Regions from separate parts of the Homo sapiens genome. Here all the other regions are linked to region 1. The links are contacts of gene promoters, found by promoter capture Hi-C in blood cells and fetal thymus (Javierre and others, 2016). All regions are on one chromosome and are shown on one strand. The core of a region is centred on a gene start or on the middle of the fragment in contact, and the rest is flanking DNA. Distances in the headings are between cores, read along the strand shown. Region 1 holds the start of LSM10 (LSM10, U7 small nuclear RNA associated). Region 2 overlaps THRAP3 (thyroid hormone receptor associated protein 3). Region 3 overlaps MAP7D1 (MAP7 domain containing 1).

Region 1 (4,191 bases), core at 1,236-3,735:
ATGGCTAGGAGAGGTAACTTGCCCAAGGTCACAGTAAATAAGTGGAATTGCTGGAATTCAAATCCGTAGCCACAGGCCGGGCGTGGTGGCTCCCCGCTGTAATCCCAGCACTTTGGGAGGCCAAGGTGGGTGGATCACTGGGGCTAGGAATTCAAGACCAGCCTGGCCAATATGGTGAAACCCCATCTCTACTAAAAATACAAAAATTAGTCGGGCATGGTGGTGAGCACCTATAATCACAGCTGCTCCGGAGGTTGAGGCAGGAGAATCGCTTGAATCCGGGAGGTGGAGGCTGCAGTGAGCCAAGATCACGCCACTGCACTCCAGCCTGGGTAACAGAGAGACTCTGTCTCAAAAAAAAAAAAAAAGAAAATCCATAGCCGTCTGGCTCCAAACCTCACACCAGGTGTGCATTAGAATCATCTGGTGAGTTTTTAACCCAACCTCCCCACCCCAGAGATTCTGATTCGTTTGGTTAGAGGGGTGGGCCCAGGTATCCTATTTTGTAAAAGCTCCCGGCTGGGCGCGGTGGCTCACGCCTGTAATCCCAGCACTTTGGGAGACCGAGGCGGGCGGATCATGAGGTCAGGAGATCAAGACCATCCTGGCTAACATGGTGAAACCCCCATCTCTACTAAAAATACAAAAAAATTAGCCAGGCGTGGTGGCGGGCGCCTGTAGTCCCAGCTACTCGGGGGGCTGAGGCAGGAGAATGGCGTGAACCTGGGAGACAGAGCTTGCAGTGAGCTGCAAGTGGAGTGCCACTGCACTCCAGCCTGGGCAGCAGAGTGACTCCATCTCAAAAAAAAAAAAAAAAAAAAAAAAAAGAAAGCTCCCCAGATAACTCCAAAGTGCTGAGGGGTACTGGTTAGAAATGCGCAATCTCAGGTCTCTCCCCAAGCCTGTTCTGAGATAAAATCCACTCCTTCACTGAGTGGCTCACTGCCATCTTCCACGCTGGCTGGAAACAGACTGCATTTTAACATGACCCCCTACGTGAATTAGATACACGTTAAGGTTTGAGAATCATTGGTTGACACCAGTAGTTCTCAAACATTAGTGTGTATCAGAATCATCTGAGGGGCTTGTTAACTCAGCTTGCTGGGCCCCACTCCCAGTTTGACTCAGGTCTGAGGTGAGGCCCAGAGATAAAGTCATTTTGAACATGTTCCCAGGTGATGCTGATGCTGCTGGTCAGGGGCCCACACTCTGGGAACTATTGGTCTACACCATGCAGCTGTTATGTAAGTAGAAATTAAGGTAATGAGGCCGGGTGCAAGGGCTCACGCCTGTAATCCCAGGATTTTGGGAGGCCAAGGCGAGTGGATCACCTGAGGTCAGGAGTTCAAGACCCGCCTGGCCAACATGGTGAAACCCAGTATCTACCAAAAATACAAAAATTACCTGGGCATGGGCGCACCTGTAATCTCAGCTACTTGGGAGGCTGAAGCAGGAGAATCGCTTGAACCCAGGAGGCAGAGGTTACAGTGAGCCAAGATTGTGCCACTGCACACCAGCCTGGGTGACACAGCGAGACTCTCAGAAAAAAAAAAAGAAAATAAATCTGGATAATGAATTGGGGAAAAAAACCCCCAACCGGTATTATATAAGGTACATAGGTTTTGAAGGTAGAGAAACCTAGGTTGGAATCCCCACTCCACCCCTAATTATGAAAACCTAGAAAAGTTAATGTCTCTGAACCTGTTTCCACATTTATTAAACTACAGGAGAAACAAAGCTACCAGAATCACACTCCACTAAAGGTACTCTCCTTTGATTTCAACATGCCCTGATAATGTATTAGTGCACTATGTCTTACCTATCCCTTATTTTCAGACCTGAGTTAAAGGGGGTGGAACGCTCTCTCTTTACGACCTCACTCAGCATCCCGTCCAGGGCTGTGCATTGTGGCACTGAGCGTGGCAAGCCAGACTAGGCCAGTGACGAGGGGGCCTGGGAGCTAGGTCCCTGGGCATGGCCTAACGACCAGCCACCCGGCTGCAGCCTGATGAATCTGCGATCAAGCAAAGGTATGGGGCTGCTGCTGCGACTGCAAAGAGCAGTCACCGGACCTCGAGTCAGGCCCGGGTTCTAGAACAGGCTTTGCCACCTCCTAGGAGGGCGATCACTTAGCAAACCACTTAGCTTCTCCAAGCTAGCTAAGCTACCGGTAAAACGGGATGAGCACCGCTTACTCAGAGCAGCGGGAGCGGGTCTGGGGAAAGGAGCTATACTCGGTAAATGGGGAAGAAAACGCTTCCTGGGCTCCGGCACCTCCTTCCGGAGGTCCTGGCATCCCCCGCATTCCGCCCCGGGGCTCCCTGCACCGCCGACCCGGACCCACCACGCGACATTCCTTCCGCTTTCCCCGTCTGGGTCGCCGCCGAAGCTAGCGGGCGCCTGGACTGGCTGCCTCCCGCCGGCTGCAGCAGGACGGAGAAACCATGCCGGCGACCGGGCCGCTCTGTCCTCCGGGCGCAGAGTGCGTCAGTGCTCTGCAAGTCACCGCGTCACGGAGAAACTACAATCCCCAGAATGCTTCGCGGCGCGGGGCTCGTGCTCCGCAAATCCCGGCCTGCGTCATTGGAGTCTCTTTCACTAGAGTCGTTCATTCATTCCGCACGCATTCATTGAACCGGCGACCTGGGCCAGGCTCCTTCCCAGGCTCCGGCATGGAGCAGTGACCAAGATCAAGTGGCTCCCTGAGCTGATGGCGCTGCAGGGGAGAGAGTCTTAAGAAAACAAAGAAGAAAAATAGGGAAAAATTTCTTCAGAAGATTAAAGGTGTGATGTGATGGTGACAAGGTGGTCTTTTATTGGATTGTCAGGGGTGCCCTGAGAAGGTGACATTTGAGTTGAGATTAGTGACATGAAGCCAAGCTTGTGAAAACTATGGGAGGAGCATTGCAATTAGCGGGAACAGTTTGTTAAGTAAAATTTATAGGAGGCAGGGCCGGGTGCAGAGGCCCACACCTGTAATCCCAGCACTTTGGAGGACAAGGCGGAAGGATCACTGGAGCCCAGGAGTTCGAGACCAGTCTGGGCAACAATGGGGAGACCCTGTCTCTACAAAAAATAGAAAAAATTAGCCCACCGTGGTGGCGTACACCTCTGGTCCCACCTACTTGGGAGGCTGAGGCAGGAGAATTGCTTGAATCCAGGAAGTGGAGGCTGCAGTGAGCTCAGAAAGTAACACTTCATTCCAGCCTGGGCAACAGAGCAAGACTCCGTCTCAAAAAAAAAAAAAAATTGGAGGCCATTGGTTTGAACAGGGCTCCTGCACCAAGCCCAACAGAACCAAAATGGAGTCACTCATGCTAAAGTTCTACATCACCAAGTGGAAACTAAGTTGTTTATCTGATATTCCGATAAATCAGAAGAGTGAGAGATAGCTAGATCTCCAAACCATCCTGTTTTAGCTGGCAGGATAAGGAAGTCCCCTCTGCTTTAGCCTTCAAAGTTACAAGGAAAGTAACTTTGAAACAACCAATCTTTTTGTTTTCTGTTTCTGCTTTCCTCAGCCCTTTTCTGGCTGTAAAACCAATCTCCTCTGCTCAGCTCATTTGAACACTCATTCCATTTTATAGAATGAAGTGTTGCCCGATTCTAGAGTTGCAAATAAAAGTCAGATTTAACAAATTTGGCAAAAAAAAGTCAAATCACCAATTAAAAGTTAAATTTTTTCTTTTCACAGTTCATGCAAAGAACCTGGGGGAAATGACCTTGACAATTTAGGAACACAGGAAAGGCCAGGGAAGCTGGGGAGAGTGGTATAACAAGAGGCCAGAGAGGAAGCAGGAACCAGAGCATATAGGGCTTTGTGAGCCAAGGTAAGGAGTTTAGATTTCATGGTTAGGAGTGCAGCCTCCGGATACAGTGCCTAGGTTCAAATCTACTCCTGGCTAATTGTGACTTTGGGCAAGTTAGTATCTTCTCTGTGCCTCAGTCTTCTCATCTAGTACTAGAAGTGCTATGACAGGCTATTGAAAGGGAGCGAAGTGATTTGATTTACTTGTAGAGACAGGTTCTCACCCTGTCATCCAGGCTGGAGTGCAGTGGTGTGATCATAGCTCACTGCAGCCTCAACTACCTGGGCTCAAGTGATCCTCCTACCCAAGCCTCAAGAATAGCTGGGACTACAGGCACACGCCACTGTGCCCCACCTGATTTACATTTTTTAAAAGTCACTCT
Region 2 (3,910 bases), core at 787-3,286, 160 kb before region 1:
TAATGAGTGAGCTTTTCGGGCTTTTGTTTTGTTTCGTTTTTTTGGAGACAAGGTCTTATTTCATTGCCCAGGCTGGAGTGCAGTGGTGCAGTCATAGCTTACTACTGCCCCTCAAACTCCTGGGCTTGAAAGGTGACTCCTGATCCTGAGAGGATCGAGTGATCCTTCCACCTCAGCTTCACAAGTAAGTAGCTGGGACTGTAGGTGCATGCCACCATGCCCGACTGTTCTTTCTTTCTTTCTTTATTGTTTAATTATTATTATTATTTTTTGAGATGGAGTCTTGCTCTGTCGCCTAGGCTGGAGTGCAGTGGCGCGATCTCGGCTCACTGCAAGCTCCGCCTCCTGGGTTCACGCCATTCTCCTGCCTCAGCCTCCCAAGTAGCTGGGAGTACAGGTGCCCACAACCACACCCGGCTAATTTTTTTGTTAGCCAGGATGGTCTCGATCTCCTGAGCTGGTGATCCGCCCGCCTCGGCCTCCCAAAGTTCTGGGATTACAGGTGTGAGCCACCATGCCCGGCCGTGTTTTTTTATTTTCTGTAGAGGCGGGGTCTCCCTGTGTTGCCCAGGCTGGTCTTTTTTTTTTTTTTTTTTTTGAGTCAGCTTCTCGCTCTATTACCCGGGCTGGAGTGCAGTGGCTCGATGTCAGCTTACTACAACCTCCGCCGCCCCTGCACCGGCTTTCAGCGATTCTCCTGCCTCAGCCTCCCAAGTAGATGGGATTACAGGTTTGCGCCACCATGGCCAGCTAATTTTTGTGTTTTTAGTAGAGACGAGGTTTCACCATGTTGCCCAGATTGGTCTTTAATGCCTGTGCTCAAGTAATCCTCTCACCTCGGCCTCCTAAATTGCTGGGGTTACAGGCATGAGCCACCTTACCTGGCCAAACTGGCTTTTACATTTCATCATCCCTGTAAGGCCTTTGTTTCCCTGGTTCTGGGTAGGTTAATCACTCTGTATCAAGTGTATTCTAGCAGGGATGGCAATATCTTTGATTTCTGTTTTCCTCCAACATTTTATTAGGAAAGATTTCAAGCATACAAAAAAGTTGAAACAATTGTACAGTACAGTGAGACCTATATGTCCATCACCTAGATTTTACATTTGTTAGCATTTGCTTAATTGCTTTGTCACTTCTTTCCACTAATCAACTCATTTTACTTTTTTCGTGGTAAAATATGTATAACATAAAATTTTATCATCTTAATCATTTGTTTTTGTGGCTACATTTCACAATTTATTTACATTTTAAGATAAACCTTGAGCTCAGAATGACATATCCCTATGTGTTTGTTTTTTAGTTGACTTCACGTAAAGGCATGGTTTGTTACACAAAGAATATAAATATTTACCATGTCTGTTACATGTAACACATAAGAACAGCTTGTAACAGAAATTCATCAACCCCCCTACATTAAGGTTCTCCAGAGGGACAGAACCAAAGGGTATATGTATAAATAAAAGTGAGTTTATTAGGAAGAATTGGCTCTCACAGTTACAGGGTGAAGTTCCATGATAGGCTGTCTGCAAGCTGGGGAAAGAGAGAAGCTGGTCACGTGGCTCAGTCCAAGTCTAAAAGCCTCAAAACCAGGGAAGCCAACAGTGCAGCCCTTAGTTTGAGGTGAAAGGGCCCGAGAGCCCCTGGGAGGCCTCTAGTGCAAGTCCTAGAGTCCAAAGGCTGAAGAACCTGGAGTCTGATGTCTAAGGGCAGGAGGAGAGGAAGCCAGGCATCTGTCACAGCATGAGAGAGAGAGCAGACTCAGCAAGCAATCTACTTATCCCCATTGTTTAGCTGTGCTTAAAGCTGATTGAATGGTGTCCCACCCACATTGAGAGTCCAGCTGGACATGTGGGCTGGTTCCTCTCACAGTCCACTCACTCACATGTCAGTCTTCTCTGGCAACACCCTCACAGACGTACCCAGGAACATTGCCTCAGCCATATAGCTATTCCTCTGTCCAGTCAAGTTGACACCTAATATTAACCATCACAGCCCTTAACATTTTTTTTGGTATAAATATAGGTATCAAAATAATCCTGGACATATTTTGGATTTTTTTTTTCTTGTGTATATTTTGGATACTTCTAGAAGTCAGCACCTGCACCGCTTCAAAAATTAACATAATTTGTGATAATATTTATTTTACCTGCTACTTTAAACAATTTTGGCTGCAGTTTTTCACTAAGCAAAATAGGTAAAGTGTGCCATTTCTGTTTTTTCCTTCTTAAGATTTTTACTTTTCGGCCGGGCGCAGTGGCTCACGCCTGTAATCCCAGCACTTTGGGAGGCTGAGGTGGGCGGATCACGAGGTCAGGAGATCGGGACCATCCCGGCTAACACGGTGAAACCCCGTCTCTACTAAAAATACAAAAAAATTATCCGGGCGTGGTGGCAGGTGCCTGTAGTCCCAGCTACTTGGGAGGCTGAGGCAGGAGAATGGCGTGAACCCAGGAGGCGGAGCTTGCAGTGAGCCGAGATCGGGCCTGGGCGACAGTGCAAGACTCCGTTTCAAAAAAAAAAAAAAAAAGATTTTTACTTTTCAGAAATACGTGCCGCTGACACCTGACACCTCTCACCACACTTGTTTTTGTAAACCTGAATTCTCTTTAGAGTACTTCAGGTTTATGTTTAAATGACAGTGCCCTAATGAGAAAAAAAATTGTGCTGTATTTTTCTTCCCATTATCTGAAATGATAATGGGTGTATATATATATATATATATATATATATATATATATATATATATACACATATATAAATAAATATATATTCTTACAAATGTCCAGGTCATGTTTACCAGCAGAAATTCTTAATGTGTGAGTATTTTGCATTGTGATATTTAATTAAGACATTAACATGAGTAGAAGGTTGACTGAAGTTTAAGATCCGCTAAAATTTTTTTTTTTTTTTTTTTCAGACAGAGTCTTGCTCTGTTGCCCAGGCTGGAGTGCAGTGGCGTGATCTTGGCTCACTGCAATCTCCACCTCCTGGGTTCAAGCAGTTCTCCTGCCTCAGCCTCCAGAGTAGCTAGGACTACAGGCACCCACCACCATGCCTGGCTAATTTTTGTATTTTTCTTAGAGATGGAGTTTCACCACATTAGTCAGGCTGGCCTCGAACTCCTGACCTCAGGTGATCCACCCACCTCGGCCTCCCAAAGTGTTGGGATTACAGGTGTGAGCCACCATGCCCGGCCAAGATCTGCTAAAATTAATTGTCATGGTTTTACTTCTGGTGGCTGTGGAAGCTACTTATTTTCTTTGGATGTCATTAGATGTCTTAGCTCTTGAAGTAAGTAGAACTTTAATGTTGTATGGATTTTGCCATTTTGCTAACACTGGTATGCTCCATGCATCCACAGTCCCGCTGGAATTAATTTTTCCATTCATAATAATTTTTGTTATAAACCTAACTGATGGAGCTTCTGGGTATTTAGGTCTACATTCTACTTCAGGTTATATATTCTGCTTTCATTTTTTTGTTTGTTCATTTATTTGTTTTTTGAGACAAGGTCTCACTGTCCCACAGGCTGGAGTACAGTGGCACGAACATACGAACTCCTGGGCCGAAATGATCCTCCTGCCTCAGCCTCCAGAGTAGCTGGGACCACAGGTGTGCGCCATGATGCCTGGCTAATTTTCTTTATATTTTGTAGAGACCAGGTCTTGCCATGTTGCCCAGGTTGATCTTGAACTCCTGGGCTGAAGTGAGCTTCCCAGCTTAGTCTCTCAAAGTGCTGGGATTACAGGTGCGAGCCGTCTGTTTTGATTTTTTTTTTTTTTTTTTTTGAGATGGAGTCTTGCTCTGTCGCCCAGGCTGGAGTGCAGAGACGCGATCTCCGCTCACTGCAAGCTCTGCCTCATGGGTTCACGCCATTCTCCTGTCTCGGCCTCCTAAGTAGCTGGGA
Region 3 (4,160 bases), core at 1,352-3,851, 230 kb before region 1:
TATTCTTCGGGGCAGGTGCTGCTTACCAAGCCCCTGCCAGGTGCCACCGATGATGTACCCGTCTGTACCAACTCCCCATGTGTGCCAACAACTCCATGAGGGAACTGTGGTTACACAGGCTCAGGGCTTGCCCGAGGTTCGCCGGGAGCCGAGGTCCTCAGTCAGGCCTGTCAGACTCTGAAGCCTGTGACCTTTCTGCTCCACTGCATCTGATGCCTGGGTGCAGGTTCTTCCAAGCCTCACTCCTCTACCTCCTCCCAGCCTCCTTTCACATAGCGAGTCAGGACCTTGCTGGGGACTCACTGACTGTCTTGCCTGGTGGGTGTGATTTGCCTAGGTGTAGACAAACACCCGCCTACCAGTTTTCCTTGCAACACCTGCAGCACGCACAGGTGCTTGGAGAATGGCAATAAACAGACCTCACCCTCAACCTTCAAGCTTAATACTTACACACCCAGGCTTTGGCTTCAGACAGTCCTGAGTTCAAATCCCAACTCTAGGCTGGGTGCGGTGGCTCACGCCTGTAATCCCAGCACTTTGGGAGGCTGAGGAGGGCGGATCACGAGGTCAAGAGATGGAGACCAGCCTGGCCAACATGGTGAAACCCCGTCTCTACTAAAAATACAAAAATTAGCTGGGTGTGGTGGTGCCTGCCTGTTGTCCCAGCTACTCTGGAGGCTGAGGCAGGAGAATTGCTTGAACCTGGGAGGCAGAGGTTGCAGTGAGCCGAGATCGCACCACTGCACTCCAGCCTGGCAACAGAGTGAGACTCCATCTCAGGAAAAAAAAAAAAAAAGCCCAACTCTGCCACATACTAGTTCTATGACTCTGTGTGGATCACTTTGCAGGTTGGGCCTTGGTTGCCACACTTGTATAATGGGGATAAGAATCTCTGCCTCTCAGAATTGCGAGGACACAGGGTGCACCACTGTTAGTGAGTAGTAAGCACTCACTAGAGTGAGTAACTGGTTTTGTTGACTACTGGAATTGGTAAAGGAGTTTGCAGTTGGCTGGGAAATAGATTAGCAGTGACCAGGCAGCCGTCTCCTGCTGGTATGGGAAGAGATGGGTGGCTTGTCATGTAGCCTAGGAGTTGGTGGAGTTGGTGGAGTTGGAGGGGTAATGGGGAAGACAGGGCCTCAGCTGGGGCTCTTGCCTGGATCCTAGCAAGCTGGATGGGAAGGAATGAGGCGGAAAATAGTGTGAGCCTCAGATAATTTATTGCGTAACACCTATTCCCTCATATTGCCTTCAACAAGGCAGGAGGGTATAATGGGTAAGGACAGGCTCTGATGATGGCTACTGGGTCCAAGTCCAGGCTCCCTGACTGACCAGCTGAATGATCTCAAATTACCTCTTTTTTTTGCTTCATCTTTTTTTACTTTACTGTCCTCATCTATATGAGGACTCCTTCATAACTATTGTCAGTGAGGATTAAAACTAATAACATATAAGGCCGGGTGCAGTGGCTCATGCCTGTAATCCCAGCACTTTGGGAGGTCGAGACGGGCAGACCACCTGAAGTCGGGAGTTCGAGACCAGCCTGGCCAACATGGTGAAACGCCGTCTCTACTAAAAATACAAAAATTAGCTGGGCGTGGTGGCAGGTGCCTGTAATCCCAGCTACTTGGGAGGCTGAGGCAGGATAATCACTTGAACTTGGAAGGCAGAGGTTGCAGTGAGCCGAGATCGTGCCAATGCACTCCAGCCTGGGCAACAGAGCAAGGCTCTGTCTTGAAAAAAAAAAAAAAAGGCCGGGCGCGGTGGGCAGTGGCTCACGCCTGTAATCCCAGCACTTCGGGAGGCTGAGGCGGGCGGATCATGAGGTCAGGAAATTGAGACCATCCTGGCTAACACCGTGAAACCCCGTCTCTACTAAAAATACAAAAAATTAGCCAGGCGTGGTGGCGGGCGCCTGTAGTCCCAGTTACTCGGGAAGCTGAGGCAGGAGAATGGGGTGAACCCAGGAGGCGGAGCTTGCGGTGAGCCCAGATTGCGCCACTGCACTCCAGCCGGGGTGACAGAGCGAGACTCCGTCTCAAAAAAAAAAAAAAAGAAAAATGTTTCCTTAGATGAAGCTTCCCACAGATGCCGGCCCTGCTCCCTAAGCAAGTTGGTAGCTGTGTTCCCATTGATCTCCTCAGTGCCTGGATGGTAGCAGCAGATGGCACCAGGGCTCAACATACAGAAGCTTCTGTTTGGGAGACCAGGAGGCTTCATAAGACCAACAGGGAGTGCTGTTTGCTGGCTGGCATGTGGATAGTGCCAGGCACCTTGCTGACATTCCCTACTAGCTTGGGCTTGTTATCCCCATTTTACAGGTATCAAAACTGAGGCTGAGCCAGGCATGGGCCTGTAATCCCAGCTACTTGGGAGACTGAGGCAGAAGGATCTCTTGAACTCAGGAGTTTGAATCCAGCCTGGGCCACATAGCAAGACCCTATCTCTTAAAAAATAAAAATTTAAAAAAAGAGACTTAAAGGAACTAACTAGACCCTTGAAAAATTCACTAGCAGCAAGTAGACTTGGGGGGAAACAAAACAAAACAAAACAAAAAAACCTGAGGCTGAGAGAGGTTGACTGGCTTGTCCATGGTTGTCTGCTGGGGAAACAAGCCCTCTCTTCCCATCTTCCTCATCTGACTGACTCTGAAGCCTGTCTCTCAATTGCCCCACATGTGTATATGTCAAATCGTGTGGCTCCCTTACTTCACTTCGATGTCTTTTACAGGATTCCTACAATAGTCATGTCTTAAAAGCAGAAATTTCGGTGTGGCTTGGGGAAAAAAGATTATAAAGTGGACGTAGCTTGTTGCCAATGGAATCTTCACAGCAAAGCATTCCACTAGAGCCCATACTTACGTCCTTCCTCTTGGTCAGTCCCATGTGCCCAGCACTGGCACCCTCTGTGAACAGACCTTGGGTTGGGCACAGTCACCCAGAAGTAAAGCAGAAAGGAGAGGGAGGCAGACATGGAAACAATCAGTGCATTTGGTGCACGAATAAGTGCTACAAGCTTGTTCTCAGCTTTTCCAACACACCCTGCTCCATTCTGCCCCTTCGCATATACTCTTCTCTGCCAACACCTCTCCTCCTTGCTTTGCTGACTCCAGCTTATCCTTCGGATCTCAGCTTGGTTGTTACTTCTTCAGCAAGCCCTCCCCATATAGGTTAACTATCTCTGCTTTGCTGCCCCAGACATAGTATTTATTCTCTACTGTAGTTGCCTAGCTATTTGTCTGTCTGCCCTGCTAGAGGGTAAGCGCCACAGAGGCAGGGATCATGGCTATTTTCTCACCATTATATCATGAGTATCTGGAACAGGGCCCGGCACATAGAAATAACTCAAACATAAGTGAATGAAGAAGTCGGTTGAACAAGGGAGAGGGCCACATATGGGGCTGATGGCACAGATGAGCAATCTGACCTCTCTCCTCTCTTGTGTTGGTCTTTCAGCTGTGGTCGCCAGGACCCCCCCAGAGCCAAGACCTTCTCCAGAAGGTGACCCTTCCCCCCCACCACCACCAATGTCAGCCCTGGTCCCCGACACTCCCCCGGACACCCCTCCTGCCATGAAGAATGCCACTAGCTCTAAGCAGCTCCCACTGGAACCAGAGAGCCCCTCAGGGCAGGTCGGGCCTAGGCCAGCCCCCCCGCAGGAAGAGTCCCCTTCCTCTGAAGCAAAGAGCAGAGGACCCACCCCACCAGCCATGGGCCCACGGGATGCCAGACCTCCTCGAAGGAGCAGCCAGCCATCTCCAACAGCAGTGCCAGCCTCCGACAGCCCTCCCACCAAGCAAGGTGTGTGTAATGACCCCGGCCTGGGCCTAAACCTCTTGGCTCAGGGTCCTGGCCCTGGATCATGCCAACTGAAAGAGTCCTGTTTGCCCTAGAGGAGATAAAGAAAGGATGGGGTGAGGCCCGGAGGGAGGGATCTGAGGCTGACTCCTCTTTGGGGACAGCCTTTTGACCTGTCTGTTCTTGTTCCCTCTGCTCAGAGGTGAAGAAGGCAGGAGAGAGACACAAGCTGGCAAAGGAGCGGCGAGAAGAGCGGGCCAAGTACCTGGGTGAGTGAGCAGGAAGCCTCATCATCTTCTTCATCGTCATCATCAGCATCCTATTAATAACACCAACAGGCTGGGGCGCAGTGGCTCACGCCTG

What was found. The method cuts DNA at HindIII sites, captures the fragments that hold promoters and counts their contacts. A CHiCAGO score of 5 or more calls a contact.
Region 2: a fragment that was not itself captured here is called in contact with the fragment with the promoter of LSM10 in region 1 in 1 of 17 cell types (neutrophils); the score reaches 5.2 in neutrophils.
Region 3: a fragment that was not itself captured here is called in contact with the fragment with the promoter of LSM10 in region 1 in 1 of 17 cell types (neutrophils); the score reaches 5.5 in neutrophils.

What each region holds. Positions count from the first base shown.
Region 1 is chr1:36,395,423-36,399,613 of GRCh38, forward strand. It overlaps LSM10 (LSM10, U7 small nuclear RNA associated), which reads right to left and starts at 2,486. Exons shown (of 2, transcript NM_032881.3): 1 at 2,345-2,486. RefSeq lists enhancers at 1,631-2,343, 2,344-3,055. The HindIII fragment of the contact is 5,014 bases long and covers 1-2,878 here.
Region 2 is chr1:36,238,680-36,242,589 of GRCh38, forward strand. The region is part of intron 1 of THRAP3 (thyroid hormone receptor associated protein 3); the gene reads left to right. It also overlaps the pseudogene UBE2V2P4. Among named protein-coding and RNA genes, the nearest start is that of THRAP3, 16 kb to the left of the region's middle. The HindIII fragment of the contact is 4,351 bases long and covers 1-3,910 here.
Region 3 is chr1:36,167,516-36,171,675 of GRCh38, forward strand. MAP7D1 (MAP7 domain containing 1) reads left to right here. Exons shown (of 17, transcript NM_001388490.1): 2 at 3,456-3,800; 3 at 3,998-4,066. Among named protein-coding and RNA genes, the nearest start is that of MAP7D1, 13 kb to the left of the region's middle. The HindIII fragment of the contact is 824 bases long and covers 2,190-3,013 here.